Regions from separate parts of the Homo sapiens genome. Here all the other regions are linked to region 3. Evidence: promoter capture Hi-C in 16 types of primary human blood cells and fetal thymus (Javierre and others, 2016). All regions are on one chromosome and are shown on one strand. Each heading gives the region's core, a stretch centred on a gene start or on the middle of the fragment in contact. The rest is flanking DNA. Distances are from core to core; before and after follow the strand shown.

What was found. The method cuts DNA at HindIII sites, captures the fragments that hold promoters and counts their contacts. A CHiCAGO score of 5 or more calls a contact.
Region 1: a contact is called between the fragment with the promoter of ZNF780A here and the fragment with the promoter of EID2 in region 3, in 2 of 17 cell types (erythroblasts and fetal thymus). The highest score is 5.8, in erythroblasts.
Region 2: the fragment with the promoter of EIF3K here is called in contact with the fragment with the promoter of EID2 in region 3 in 6 of 17 cell types (fetal thymus, naive B cells, total B cells and 3 more); the score reaches 16.1 in fetal thymus.

Annotation. Positions count from the first base shown.
Region 1 is chr19:40,088,664-40,093,155 of GRCh38, reverse strand. ZNF780A (zinc finger protein 780A) reads left to right here and starts at 2,213. Exons shown (of 6, transcript NM_001142578.2): 1 at 2,213-2,250; 2 at 2,921-2,990. RefSeq lists a silencer at 2,062-2,391 and an enhancer at 1,939-2,480. The HindIII fragment of the contact is 842 bases long and covers 1,817-2,658 here.
Region 2 is chr19:38,617,938-38,622,109 of GRCh38, reverse strand. It overlaps EIF3K (eukaryotic translation initiation factor 3 subunit K), which reads right to left and starts at 2,922. Exons shown (of 8, transcript NM_013234.4): 1 at 2,783-2,922; 2 at 1,675-1,773. The coding sequence starts at 2,841. It overlaps MAP4K1 (mitogen-activated protein kinase kinase kinase kinase 1), which reads left to right and starts at 4,157. Exons shown (of 31, transcript NM_001042600.3): 1 at 4,157-4,172. RefSeq lists an enhancer at 3,584-3,633. The HindIII fragment of the contact is 6,969 bases long and covers 1-3,154 here.
Region 3 is chr19:39,537,564-39,542,051 of GRCh38, reverse strand. EID2 (EP300 interacting inhibitor of differentiation 2) reads left to right here and starts at 1,891. Exons shown (of 1, transcript NM_153232.4): 1 at 1,891-3,345. The coding sequence starts at 1,973. The coding sequence ends at 2,683. RefSeq lists an enhancer at 1,636-2,135 and a silencer at 2,107-2,186. The HindIII fragment of the contact is 1,343 bases long and covers 1,478-2,820 here.

The DNA of each region.
Region 1 (4,492 bases), core at 964-3,463, 550 kb before region 3:
AAAGAATGGTGATATTGGTTAGGAAATCGATTAAAGTATCAGAATATACTTAAATATAATTATTCTCCGCTTTATTCTAATGTTTAGTCAACATAAATAGCTTAAAAATTTTTTTCCTTACTACAAAATTGTTATTTTGCTTTAACGTATATATGTTATTGTTTCACCCTTTAGGATATAACAGAATATTATAATTAATACAGGAATTTTTCAAACATTACATAATTTCAATTACCTTAGTATTCATACCTTTTCGAATTTGTACTACTTTGGACAATATATTATATATTCAGCTATTATTGAGTTCTAATTTAATTCCATTTTTGTCAAAGAATATGCTTTGTATGACTCGAATCCTCTTACATTTATTGAGACTTGTTTTATGGCCCAGAATATGGCCTATACTGGTAAGTATCCCCTGTCCACATAGATGAATTTTACTGTCATTGAGGAGAGTGTTCTCAAATATAAATGAGATCAAGTAAGTTGATATGTAGCTCAAATCTGCTATACCCTGTTGCTTTTCTGTGTTTGTTCTATCAATTACCAAGAGAGATATATTGAAATATCTGACTATAATTGTGGATCTGTCTCCTTTTCGATCTAATAGATTTTTCTTCCCATACTTAGAAGCTTTGCTTTTAGGAGCAAAATTTATGTTTGTTTTTTTCTACTCGATGAGCTATCTCCTTTATCATTATTATGCCCTTCTTTATCTCTGGTAATAGTCTATGTCCGGAGTCTACTTTGTTTTTAATAAAGCCACTCCAGCTTTCTTTTGACTAGTGTTAGGATGGTGTATATTTTTCCATCCTTTTACTCTTAACCTTTTAGTGCTTTTCATTTAACATATTACCTGTAGGTAGCACCCATTTGGGTCTGACTTTTTGTTTATTTATTTATTTAATTATCTTTTTTTATTATACTTTAAGTTCTAGGGTACATGTGCACAAAGTGCAGGTTTGTTACATATGTATACATGTGCCATGTTGGTGTGCTGCACCCATTAACTCGTCATTTACATTAGGTATATCTTCTAATGCTATCCCTTCCCCCTCCCCCGACCCCACTATAGGCCCCGGTGTGTGATGTTCTCCACCCTGTGTCCAAGTGTTCTCATTGTTCAATTCTCACCTATGACTGAGAACATTTGGTGTTTGGTTTTCTGTCCTTGCGATAGTTTGCTCAGAATGATGGTTTCCAGCTTCATCCATGTCCCTACAAACGACATGAACTCATCCTTTTTATGGCTGCATAGTATTCCATGGTGTATATGTGCCACATTTTCTTAATCCAGTCTATCATTGATGCACATTTGGGTCTGACTTTTTAAAAAATCCAATCTGACAATCTTTTTAAATTAAGGTGTTTAGACCATTTACATTTAATGTGATTATTGATATGGTTGAGTTAATCATCTTATTTGTTTTCTGTCACAATTCTGGAATGAAAAGACGTTTTGCTCTTTATTATTACATGTTTCCTCCTTATGTAGCATAGGAAACTAGAAAAATGATTTTGAAAGTTAAATATTGTTAGACTACAACAGTGAAATCAGGCTCTTCCTAGGAAAAGCAAGCCCTTTTTTGCATTTGTTTATACTATTTTAACAAAGTGTTAATTATTCATCCTTCAAGATAAGGCAAGTAATTATCTGTGTATTTTTATCCGTTTCCATGTCGTCCTGAATCACGTTTTTCTCTCCAGATAACAGGAACATTGTCTCGAAGAATCCAGGACATTTGATTCTGAAATCTCCAATGTGAACCACACTTCCTCTCCTAGTATATAACCAACCAATTCTTTAGTTCAAGCTTTTCAAATTTATCCTAAGTCCCCTTCAAATAGCACAGAGAAGTGGAAGCCTATCGCTGGGGTCTGAGACAAAGGAGTTAAAGCACCTACATGTTGACATAATTTTACTTTAAATTCTTCTTTCTTCTTTAAAAGTTCTGCTCATTTGCATTCTCCATGGAGAGAAAAAGTAAATTATACTGACGCTCCGAGAGGGAAACGCTCTTCTCACATGGGGATCCTTGCTCATGGCAACAACCTGTGCACCCCGCGGGCTGGAACTCCCACGAATCCACTAGGCTCGGCTCCCTTAGGGGTCAGCCCCCATAGTATGCTGGGATCAACCTGAACGGATCACAGCTCAAGGCTTCTGAGGCTTTTTCTGTTCGGGACTGTATTTCCCAGCGGCCACCGCGCCAGTCCACTTCCGGTCTCCGGGGTCGACGACATAGCGGGGTAAGGTCTTCACGTCTGAGGAAGAGATCTGTGGCTGCGGGAGATCTCTGCGGATTGGGGCTCCAGCCTGACTGACCCGACAGTGCGGGTGGCCTAGGGGGAGGCGCTCAGAGTAGGAACCCGGGGGTGCAGACGGGATCTGCCGGATCCCCAGGCGTGTGTGTGCGCGGGTATCAGAGGAGGGGGATTGTGAGATCATGAGTGACGGAGGGGACTGTGAGTGTGTGCGTGAGGTTCTATGCACAGGCCCGGGAGGGCGTGTGGACGCAGCGCACTTTGCTGAGTGACACTGTGCCGGTGCCCCTAGGCTCCTGCTGCTTCCTCCCTCTTTCCGCTTCACAGCTGCGGGGACTGCAGCAGAGGAATGGCCCCAGTAGGGAGGTCAGATATTGAGCCGAGAATGAAGCTTTACACAAGAAAGCGCAGAAGTGCCCCCGAGTGTTCCCCAGGGGGGCAGCTACATGTTGAGAACCACAGCGTCCTCAGAGCTCTGTCCCCAGAAACCAGCTCCAAACTGGTTGTACTGGTTGAATCGATTCCTCTTCCTTTTACTTCCTTCCTATTTCGTGTGAAGTGAGGGAAATTGTGGCTATGGAGGGAGGGTGTTTTCAAACTTAGTCTGCGCTCCAAGAAATGCCTGGAGTCTCACGCTTGCCGTATCCTTCTCCAGTCGTATTTTTATCCAAAAGAAGGACCTGGAGGAGGATGAGAGCGTTACTGCTGCACACCTAAAGTCAAGGGTGAGTTTGTGCTTTGTATTTGTTCAAGACATGCGTTTTTGATTTTAGAATATTGAGATTTCCCCTTAAATTTTCAGTGAAACTAGGGGGATATGCAAATTGATTCGTGCCCCCTCCTTCACCTTTCCACTTAATAGTCACAAAACAATTTGGCAAATCGTTCACACCTTCCTGTGCGCTCTCTTTTTCGAAGCTGGTATAGAAATACACCTCCAGTAGTTAATATTAAAGCTCCATTTTAGACCCATATTTGGGAAGGAGGAGATTAGTGTTTAGGTGGAATCACACACTAGACATCAGTTGGTCTTTACAGACCTCCTTTTCAAAACAGGGAAGAATGGAGATGGTTGGATGATCTCCATTGCCTGTGAGGCATTCGGTAGTGGAAAAGTGACCGCACAGAAATTGGTATCAACAAGAGCCAGGATTTTTCCAGGGAGTCCATGAGATGATATTTGTAATACTTGCCAGATCTCTCTGAGGTTTGGCAGCTCCAGTTGTGTTTTAGGCGTGTGTGTGTGAGTGTGTGTGTGTGTGTGTGTGTGTGTACTGTGAGAGGCAGTACACTGTTGTGGTTAAGAATAGGGGAGTGGATCCAGAGTATCTGGGTTGGAATATTGGTTCTGTCATTAGAATGAATTAATATCGTAAAGCCCCTTAGAGCAGTGCTAGGCATATAATAATGTTTAATATGTTTTAACTGTTGTTTTTTGTGTAGTCATTTTAAGTCATTCCCCTTGACTCTCTACAGAACAGGAGCATTGGGAATATGTGATTCATTGCGACTGCTGGTTGTATATTAAGAAAATGAGTGAGGGGCTCAAATGATCTAGGACAGAAATTCTTTCTTTTTAAATCGACAGATATAATTGTATGTATTTATCATGTGCAACATGAAGTTTTATGGTATGTATACATTGTGGAATGACTAAATCTAGCTAATTAACAATGCATTACCTCACATAGTTATCATTTTTGTGGTGAGAACACTTAATATCCACCCTCCTAGCATTTTTCAAGACTACAGAATATTGTTATTAATTGGAGATACCCTGTTGTGTAATAGATCTCCTGAACTTATTTCTCTTATCTTCCTGAAATTTTGTATCCTTTGACCAACATTTCCCCAGTCAACACTGCCCTCCTTCCTCCCTCACCCACATTACCCCAGATCTGTAAATACGATTCTACTCTCCACTTCTATGATATCAACTTTTTTAGATTTGGCTGAAGAGTGAGATCATATGTCTTTCTGTGCTTGGCTTACTTCACTTAATATGATGTTCTCCAGGTTCATCCATGTTTTTGCAAATGACAGAATTTCCTGCTTTTTATGGCTAAATAGTATTCCCTTGTGTAAATATACCTGCATATATACCACATTTTCTTTATCCATTTATTCATTGTTAGACGCGTAGGTTGATGCCATATCTTGGCTATTGTGAATAATGCTGCAATAAACATGGGTATGCTGATATCTCTTTGACATACAGATTTCATTT
Region 2 (4,172 bases), core at 1,673-4,172, 920 kb after region 3:
AAAAAAAAAAGGAAAGAAAGAAAGCACCCAAGTAAAATTAGCTGGGCATGGTGGTGCATGCCTGTAGTCCCAGCTATTCAGGAGGCTGAGGCGGGAGAATCACTTGAGTCCAGAAGGCTAAGGATGCAGTGAGCCATGACTGTGCCACTGTACTCCAGCCTGGGCAACAGAAGATCCTGTCTCCAAAAAAAAAAAAAAAAAAAAAAGGGCACGAAGAACCCACAATGTCCATCAAGAGCCAGAAGAGATCATTAGGACAGCCACACAAGTGACACAGTGGAGAGCTATACATCCATGACAACAAACTGCAGCCATATCAAAAACAAAACAAAAAAACAAAAAACACTGGATGGATCTCACAAACCCAGTGCTGAGTAGCAAATGGCAAATGCAGAAGAGTTTGTGCTGTATGCACTCCATCTGTATCAAGTTCAAAGCAGGGAAACCTGAGCTGAGCTGAGCCAGATGTATGCATGCATAGTAAACCATCACATAAAGCCAGGCCATGAGAGCATGGGGGAGCAGGGGAATTGGTTGGCATAGAGCATAGGGGGCAAAGAGCCTGTGGTGCTAGCAATAACTTTGCAACATAAATGGTGATTATGTAGGCTTTCATTTATAATGATTTGTTAAACTACATGTTTGCTTAATGTATTAGCCTGTACATGTGTTCTGTAATTAACCTTTATTTATTTTTGAGACAGGGTCTCACTCTGTCGCCCAAGCTGGAGTGCAGTGGTATGATCTTGGCTCACTGCAACCTCTGCCTCCCAGGCTCAAAAAATTCTCCTGCCTCAGCCTCCCAAGGAGCTGGGACTACAGCCATGCGCCACTGGGCCCAGCTAATTTTTGTAGAGACAGGGTTGTGCCATGTCACCCAAATTGGTAATTCTTTTTTTTTTTTTTTTTTTTAAAAAGAGGGGTCTCACTCTGTCCCCCAGGCTGGAGTGCAGTGGCACTATCATGGCTCACTGCACCTTAATCTTCCAGGCTTAAGCGATCCTTCCACCTCAGCCTCTCAAGTAGCTGGAACTACAGCCACACACCGCTACATTAATTTTTAAATTTTTTCGTAGGGTTGGGTCTCGCTATGTTGCCATGGATGGTCTCGAACTCTTTGGCTCAAGTGAGTCTCTCGCCTCAGCCTCCCAAAGTGCTGGGATTACAGGCATGAGCCCCTGCGGCCACCCTAATTGATTTTTTATTATTATTTTTGAGACGGAGTTTCGGTCTTGTTGCCCAGGCTGGAGTGCAATGGCGCGATCTTGGTTCACCACAATCTCCGCCTCCTGGGTTCAAGCAATTCTCCTGCCTCAGCCTCCCGAGTAGCTGGGATTACAGGCATGTGGCACCACGCCTGGCTAATTTGGTATTTTTTAGTAAAGATGGGGTTTCTCCGTGTTGGCCAGGCTGGTCTCAAACTCCCTACCTCAGGTGATCCGCCTGCCTCATCCTCCCAAAGTGCTGGGATAACAGGCGTGAGTCACCGCGCCCGGCAATTGATTTTTCAAAAACCATCCCTCCTCCTGTCCCAACTTCCTTGGCTTCCTAGTCTTGCACACCAAGAGATGCTGCATTGTTCAGGATACTACCAGCCACCCCCTTGCCCTGTACTGGGAGTGGCACCCTGCTAGTTGCTGCAATGGGAGTGTAGACAGAGAGCTAGACACTTACAGCTTCAGGACAGCCAGGTTGGCTTCCAGATCATAGGCATTTTCCTTGGCCTGCGTCTCTACATAGCGCTCCAGGGTGGCCAGGTTCTCAGGATTGTACCTAAAGGAGAATCAAGATAGGTGAGCACAGAGGAGACAGAAGCTGAGGCCAGCCACCTTATGGAGCAAGGGGCCACTGTAACCTGCTCCTCCCGCCCTTCCCCTCTAAATCTGGCACTGGCCACTTGCTCTATCCAGGTAGTGAATTATGTCCAGTATAATCTCTAGTAAAACTTATTCTTATCCCAGACCTCTCGCCTAAGCTCTAAACTCCACTGGAGCCCTGGCTCTTCCCTAGGATGCCTCCTCAACCTCTGAGCCAGTCAGTCACTGCAGCTTGTACACCTGGCCTCCTGAATGTCTCTGCTACTCACCCCTTCCTCCCCTGTTCAGGCCTCCACCCTGATCCAGCCCCATCCTCTCCTGCCTACCTCGCTGCCTACTTCCTCCATGTCCACCTGAACACTCTGGCCTTTGCTTCCCCCATTTCAGTTCTAATCTCTCCCGGCTATCGCTGTCTGCTGTCAGGTTTGTCTCCCTTATGGAAAGGGAACTCAGACCGTGAAGGCATGATCTGCCGCTGTCTGATTCGCCTGTGGTTCCCAGCATTGCCTAGCACTGACAGTTTATTTCAGTAAACGTGTGGAGAATGAATGACTTATAGAGCAGAGAAGGGAGAGATTAAGAGGCACTCAAAGGAGGCGGAGCAGAGAAGGAAACCTTAAGGCAATTTACGAAGAGACTGAGTGGTACCAAGATTCTCTCGCTTCTAGGCCTTTGCAGTGCTTTTGTTTCTTTCTTTTAGAGACGGGGTTTGGCTGTTGCCCAGGCTGGTCTCTAACTCCTGGGCTCAGGCGACCCACCTACCTCGGCCTCCCAAAGTGCTAGGATCACAGGCGTGAGCCACTACCCCCAGCTCAGTGCCGTTTCTTTAAGCATCTCCTCCTCCAGGAGGATAGAGAAACCCCACCCCGCGGCAAGCCCAGGACCCTGAACACCCCTTGCTGTCTCCGGAAAACCCTCTCCTCCGCCCCGCTTGGCCAGAGCGCTTCCTCCAACCGGGCTCAGACCTGTCGATACCCTTGAGCAACTTGCCCACGTTGGCTCTCATCTGCTCAAACATCGCCATGACTTCTGTCGCCTTCCACAACCAGGGCTGGAGGCTAACACTGACCCGGCACGGCGTCCTCAAGGACGGGAACAGGAAGAGGTGGTGGAAACGGAAACGACGTCGTTGTTGTCGCTCCAGCTCCTTGGGTGCGGTAAAGGGAAAGGCTCTAGCAGCAGCCGCCACGCTTTCCGGCTGCCACGTGACTTCTTCCTCGCAGGCGCAATTGGCGCGTGCGCATTCGCGCCACTCAAGCTGGACAGACAGCGTGAGAAAAATCTTACTGGATCCCAGTGCGCAGGCGCCTCTCGTGGCGAGGGGGCGGGGCTAAGCTTTTCCCGGGCCTCACAGACCCAGTTCCAGTGCCGGTAGCGCGGGAGCGTGCGCGCGCGAACTCACCGGGAAGCACCCGGAGCTCTGGCGGCGTGCGCGCGCGTTGTATTGCGCGCGGCCATGAGGCCACGGAGCTCTGCGGGAATGCACGCAGCAGCCTTACGTTTAGGCCATGGCCAAGTTCCGAGGGAGGTGTTCTGAGGTCCCTCTTGCCACAGGCCTGGGCGCCTGGTGCAGGATCCTGAGCTCTCCAGTTTCAAGTCTCAGCCCTTGGTCCCCAGCTCCAGGAGGAGGGTCCCACAAAGCTACTGTGCTCTGCCGGGCAGGGGCTGGGGTGAGGGCTCCTGGACTTCGCCGGATCGCGCCCCGTCTCCATTAGGTTCCGGTCTTGGAGCTGAGGGCGAGCGTCCCATTTGTACTGCCATGAATTATATATTATGTATAGGTTTTGTACACTGCAGGCCTACAAAATGCAGTTATGTGCCATGCATGTGGAGGTATATGTCCTGGGTACATCCACGTGTGTACTGTGCACACAGGTATCCAGGCAGATGCACGTCTACACGCCTGCGCAGTGCAGAGGAGGTAACCCAAGTGCATGTATGTGACAGGTGAACAGGCATGTACACTGCATAGCCATCCCTTTGCAGACCTGCCGCCTTCGGGTTGTGGCCAAACCTTCAAGCACCCAGCAGAGGTTTAGACACTACCTAGGAGACGGGGGCGGGGGTTCTAAGGCACCCCCCTCCAACCCAGTTACGATTAAGATCATTTGCATCACATTTACATCCAGCCCTGGGCCTTGGAGGTTGAGGGTGGTCCCTTGGGTCCCAAGACAAGCTGCCCCTCAGAGGCTCTCAGAGCCCAGGGGACGGGGGGGTGGAGCCCGTTGCACAGTCGTGCAGTGCAGCTGGGGCAGGAAGCGAGAGTGAGGAGGGGGGAGGCCACAGCCCGCGGAGGCAAGGCGGGTGCAGGGCTTCTGGGGACGGAGGGAGGTGCCAGAAGTTGAGCCCTGAGGC
Region 3 (4,488 bases), core at 642-3,141:
AGATGCATGTTTTAATATTACAAGATCCATAAAAGAATGGTAATAAGCCGGGCACAGTGGTTCACGCCTGTAATATCAGCACTTTGGGAGGCCAAAGCCTGGCGGATCATGAGGTCAGGAGTTCGAGACCAGCCTGGCCAATATAATAAAACCCTGTCTCTACTAAAAATACAAAAATTAGCCGGGCATGGTGGCGCGCACCTGTAATCCCAGCTACTCAGGAGGCTGAGGCAGGAGAATCACTGGAACTGGGAGGCAGAGGTTGCAGTGACCCAAGATCACACCACTGTACTTCAGCTTGGGCAACAGAGCGAGACTTCATAAAAAAAATGGTAATGAATATAATAACTATCAAGAAAATAAAGTATTTATAAACCATAATGAAAATGTAGGCTGGAGGCCGAGTGCTCTGGCTCACCCTATAATCCCAGCACTTTGGGAGGCTGAGACAGGCGGGTCGTTTGAGCCCAGGACTTTGAGACCAGCCTGGGCAACATAAGGAGACCCTGTCTCTACAAAAAAATTAAAAATTAACTGGGTGTGGTGGTGTACACCTGTAGTCCCAGGTACTCAGGAGACTGAAGTGGGAGGATTATTTGAGCTCGGAAGGTTGAGGCCACGTTGAGCTGTGATTGTGCCACTGCACTCCAGTCTGGGTAACAGAATGAGATGAAAGAAAGAAGGAATGAAGGAAGGAAGGAAGGAAGGGAGTGAGGGAGGGAGGGAGGAAGAGAAAATGTGAATGGATGAATCTCATAAAAATAATGCACAAAAAAACAGATACAAGTGTGTATGTGAGAAAACATTTTAAATGGTCCATTTCTGAGGCATGATAAATCTAAGTACTGGCAGCCAGCCTGCAAATATAACAAACTGCAGGGCTCATCCACCTAGAAGGTCACAATAAGGGAACAGAATGTAGAGGCGGGGTCAGCCCATAAAAGGGAAGAAAGTGGCCGGCGCAGTGGCTCACGCCTGTAATCCCAGCACTTTGGGAGGCCGAGGCAGGCGGATCACGAGGTCAAGAGATCGAGACCATCCTGGCCAACATGGTGAAACCTCGTCTCTACTAAAAATACAAAAATTACGCAGGTGAGTGTGTTTCTCACATAGATAAAGTTCAGAATACAAACCAAACTAAACTACAGCATTAGGAATGCACCCTTAGGTGGTAAAATGAAAAGAAAAACAAGAAAGTGATTACCATAAGTATCAGCATAGTTGTTACTTCTGCGTAGAAAGGAAAGGATAGTGATAAGAAGAAGAGGAAGGGTTCTGGGATGCTGGAAATATTCCACTTCTTGGACTGTGTGGTAGTTAAACGGATGTTCACTTTGTGATAAATCATTCAGCTGTATATTTATGTTTTGTTTACTTTTCTGCATGTTATATTGCACAAATAAGATTCGAAAAACAAATGTCCAAGGTAGTCAATGCAATGTTAAAGATAACACGAAAAGACTGTAATTACAAAGCTTTGGTAGCTAGGACGATCCGTATGGATGAAGACAGGCAAAGGAATGAATGAAAAACAATTTAAAAATCCAGAAAAGACCATGAATCTAAAATATCTTGATATATAATAGAGGTGGCACATAATCACTGGAGAACAAAGAGAAACACCCTAGGACAGAACCTTGAGAACGCCTACAAGAAGCGATCTTGTAAGCGTTCCTCATAAACATCAAACTGGTTGAAATGTCCCCCGCCCTTCGTCGTTGGGATGTTTCAGATGCGTTGGCGCTTCCCGGCCTCGAGGGGGCATCTGGAGAACGGCGGGCGCCGGGAAAGTACGCATGCGCACTGCTCCCAGGGTTTGCGGTAAGAATCTATGCTCTCGCGCCCGGTTACGCACACTGCATTTACAGCGCGCATAGCGCCCACGCACGCGCACTGGGGTGTCCGCCGGGCATCGCTCTGTCCAGTTATTCCAGTTTCTCTGGGAGCAGCCGAGTTGACCCCACGGTCTGAGATGTCCAAGCTGCCCGCAGACAGCAGTGTCCCGCAGACAGGCGCGGCGAATGGTGACAGAGACGTCCCGCAGGCGGAGGTAGGCCGCGGGAGGCGGGAGCCGGCCCCGGCACAGCCTGAGGAGGCCGGGGAAGGCGCGATGGCGGCGGCCAGGGGAGGCCCGGTGCCGGCGGCCAGGGAAGGTCGGATGGCGGCGGCCAGGGCAGCCCCGGCGGCGGCAGCCAGGGGAGCCCCGGTGGCAGCGGCGGCGTTGGCCAGGGCAGCCGCGGCGGGCAGGGAAAGCCCGGCGGCGGCGGCGGCCAGGGAAGCCCGGATGGCGGAGGTCGCCCGCTTGCTGGGGGAGCCAGTGGACGAAGAGGGTCCCGAGGGCAGGCCCAGGTCCAGACACGGGAACGGAGGCCTGGCTGCGTTGCCCTATCTCCGTCTCCGCCACCCACTTAGCGTTTTAGGCATCAATTACCAGCAGTTTCTCCGCCACTATCTGGAAAATTACCCGATTGCTCCCGGCAGAATACAAGAGCTTGAAGAACGCCGCAGGCGATTCGTGGAAGCCTGCAGAGCAAGGGAAGCAGCGTTTGATGCCGAATATCAGCGAAATCCTCACAGGGTGGACCTCGATATTTTAACCTTTACGATAGCTCTGACTGCCTCTGAAGTTATCAACCCTCTGATAGAAGAACTTGGTTGCGATAAGTTTATCAATAGAGAATAGTTATGTGGTGACACTACTTCAAGAGAACCTCTGCATTCCAGTCATACCAATCCTGCAACTTGATTTTCAGAAGTCAAGAGTATATCGCGATAAGACAGTGCACAGGTGGAGGGGAAAAAAAGGGGGAGGGGGAAGCTTATCTTGAAAAAGCATCACAGAAGTAGAAAAAAATGTCGAAAGCATTATAACTGTAACGTTCTTTGAGTTTGTGATTGATCCACATTTTTCCCCCTGCATTATGGAAAATGTCTCTCAGCATTGCTTTATTACAAAGTAAAGGATGGTTTTATAAAATTGAGACTGATGAAACATCAATACTAGAGCCCATGAGGATGAAAGAAATTATCAAATAGTGCTGAACAGAATAAGATGTTAACGCTGAGTTATTAGGACTGGAAGGCTATGAAAAGAACTTGAAATTGTCGGAATATGTGCTCTCTTCATGTCATATTCAATAGAAGTTTCTAGTTTAAGATTGATTTTGTGTTTTCTTAGGCATTTCAAGTGACAAGCAAAGTAAATGTATATATTATGTGATAAATCATGTTTTCAAGAACGTCAAATTTCTGGACTTTTTTCTTTCAATTTTTAATTTTTAAAGTTTTTTTGGTATTAAAAAATCTATTCACAAGCCAAAAAATATATAAAATATACAGCGAAAAGCCTTCCATTCTTGTTTTCCTCCATCCAGTACCAACGATGACCTCTAATAGCCACAGTTTCCTTTCCGTCCTTCTAGTTTCCTTACGTGTACACAGGCACATATAAATCTGGGTTTACTTGTTTTATTTCTTCACAGAAGTCGGCATATTATATTTACTGGTTTATACATTGCTTTCTCATTAAGAACATATGTTGACCCTTCCAAACCACTGTATTTCCTCATTATTTTTTAAAGTGGCATTTTATTCCATTCTGAGGTTATGTCCAAATTTACTTAACCAGGGATATATTGACGGACATTTAGGTTGTTTCCCATCTCTTTCTTTGGGCAGAATAAAAAATTGCTAGAGTAGTTCATCTTGTACAATTGCTAGAGTAGTTCATCTTGTATATCATGTGGCATGTGCACAAATATAGTATTGCTTCAATTCAAAATTCACTTCATATTTGAACATCTCTGAAATGTGGGTGCATCTTATATTTGATGCTGTAATAGATCATTTTTTCCTTGGGTTTTCACGAAACTAGTGATTTTTTTTTTTTAAGAGGGAGTCTCACTCTGTCGCCAGGCTGGAGTGCAGTGGCGCAATCTCGGCTCACTGCAACCTCCGCCTCCCAGGTTCAAGTGATTCTCCTGCCTCAGCCTCCTGAGTAGCTGGGACTGCAGGCGCCCACCACAACACCTGGTCAATTTTTGTATTTTTAGTAGAGACGGGGTTTCACCATGTTGGCCAGGATGGTCTTGATCTCTTGACCTTGTGATCTGCCCACCTTGGCCTCCCAAAGTGCTGGGATTACAGGTGTGAGCCACCGCGCCCAGCCCTAATGATGTGTCTCATGATCAATAGCTACCTAGATTCCTTTTTACATGTAATATCTGTAGGCTGATGCCCCAGAAATGAGAATTCTGGGCCAAAGTTACTCCTTTGAGATTTTATGAATATTGCTATGCAGCATTCTATATGTGTCCTGCTTTGCACTCCCACCAGCAATTAATGATCATAGATGTTTCGTTACAGCCCAGCCAACACACTAAATCATCAATAATATCTGGCTTTTGCGAATCTGATAGTTGAAAAATGGTATATCAGTTTTAATTCGCTTTTATGATGAGCGAAGTTAAATTTTTTTTTTTTTTTGAG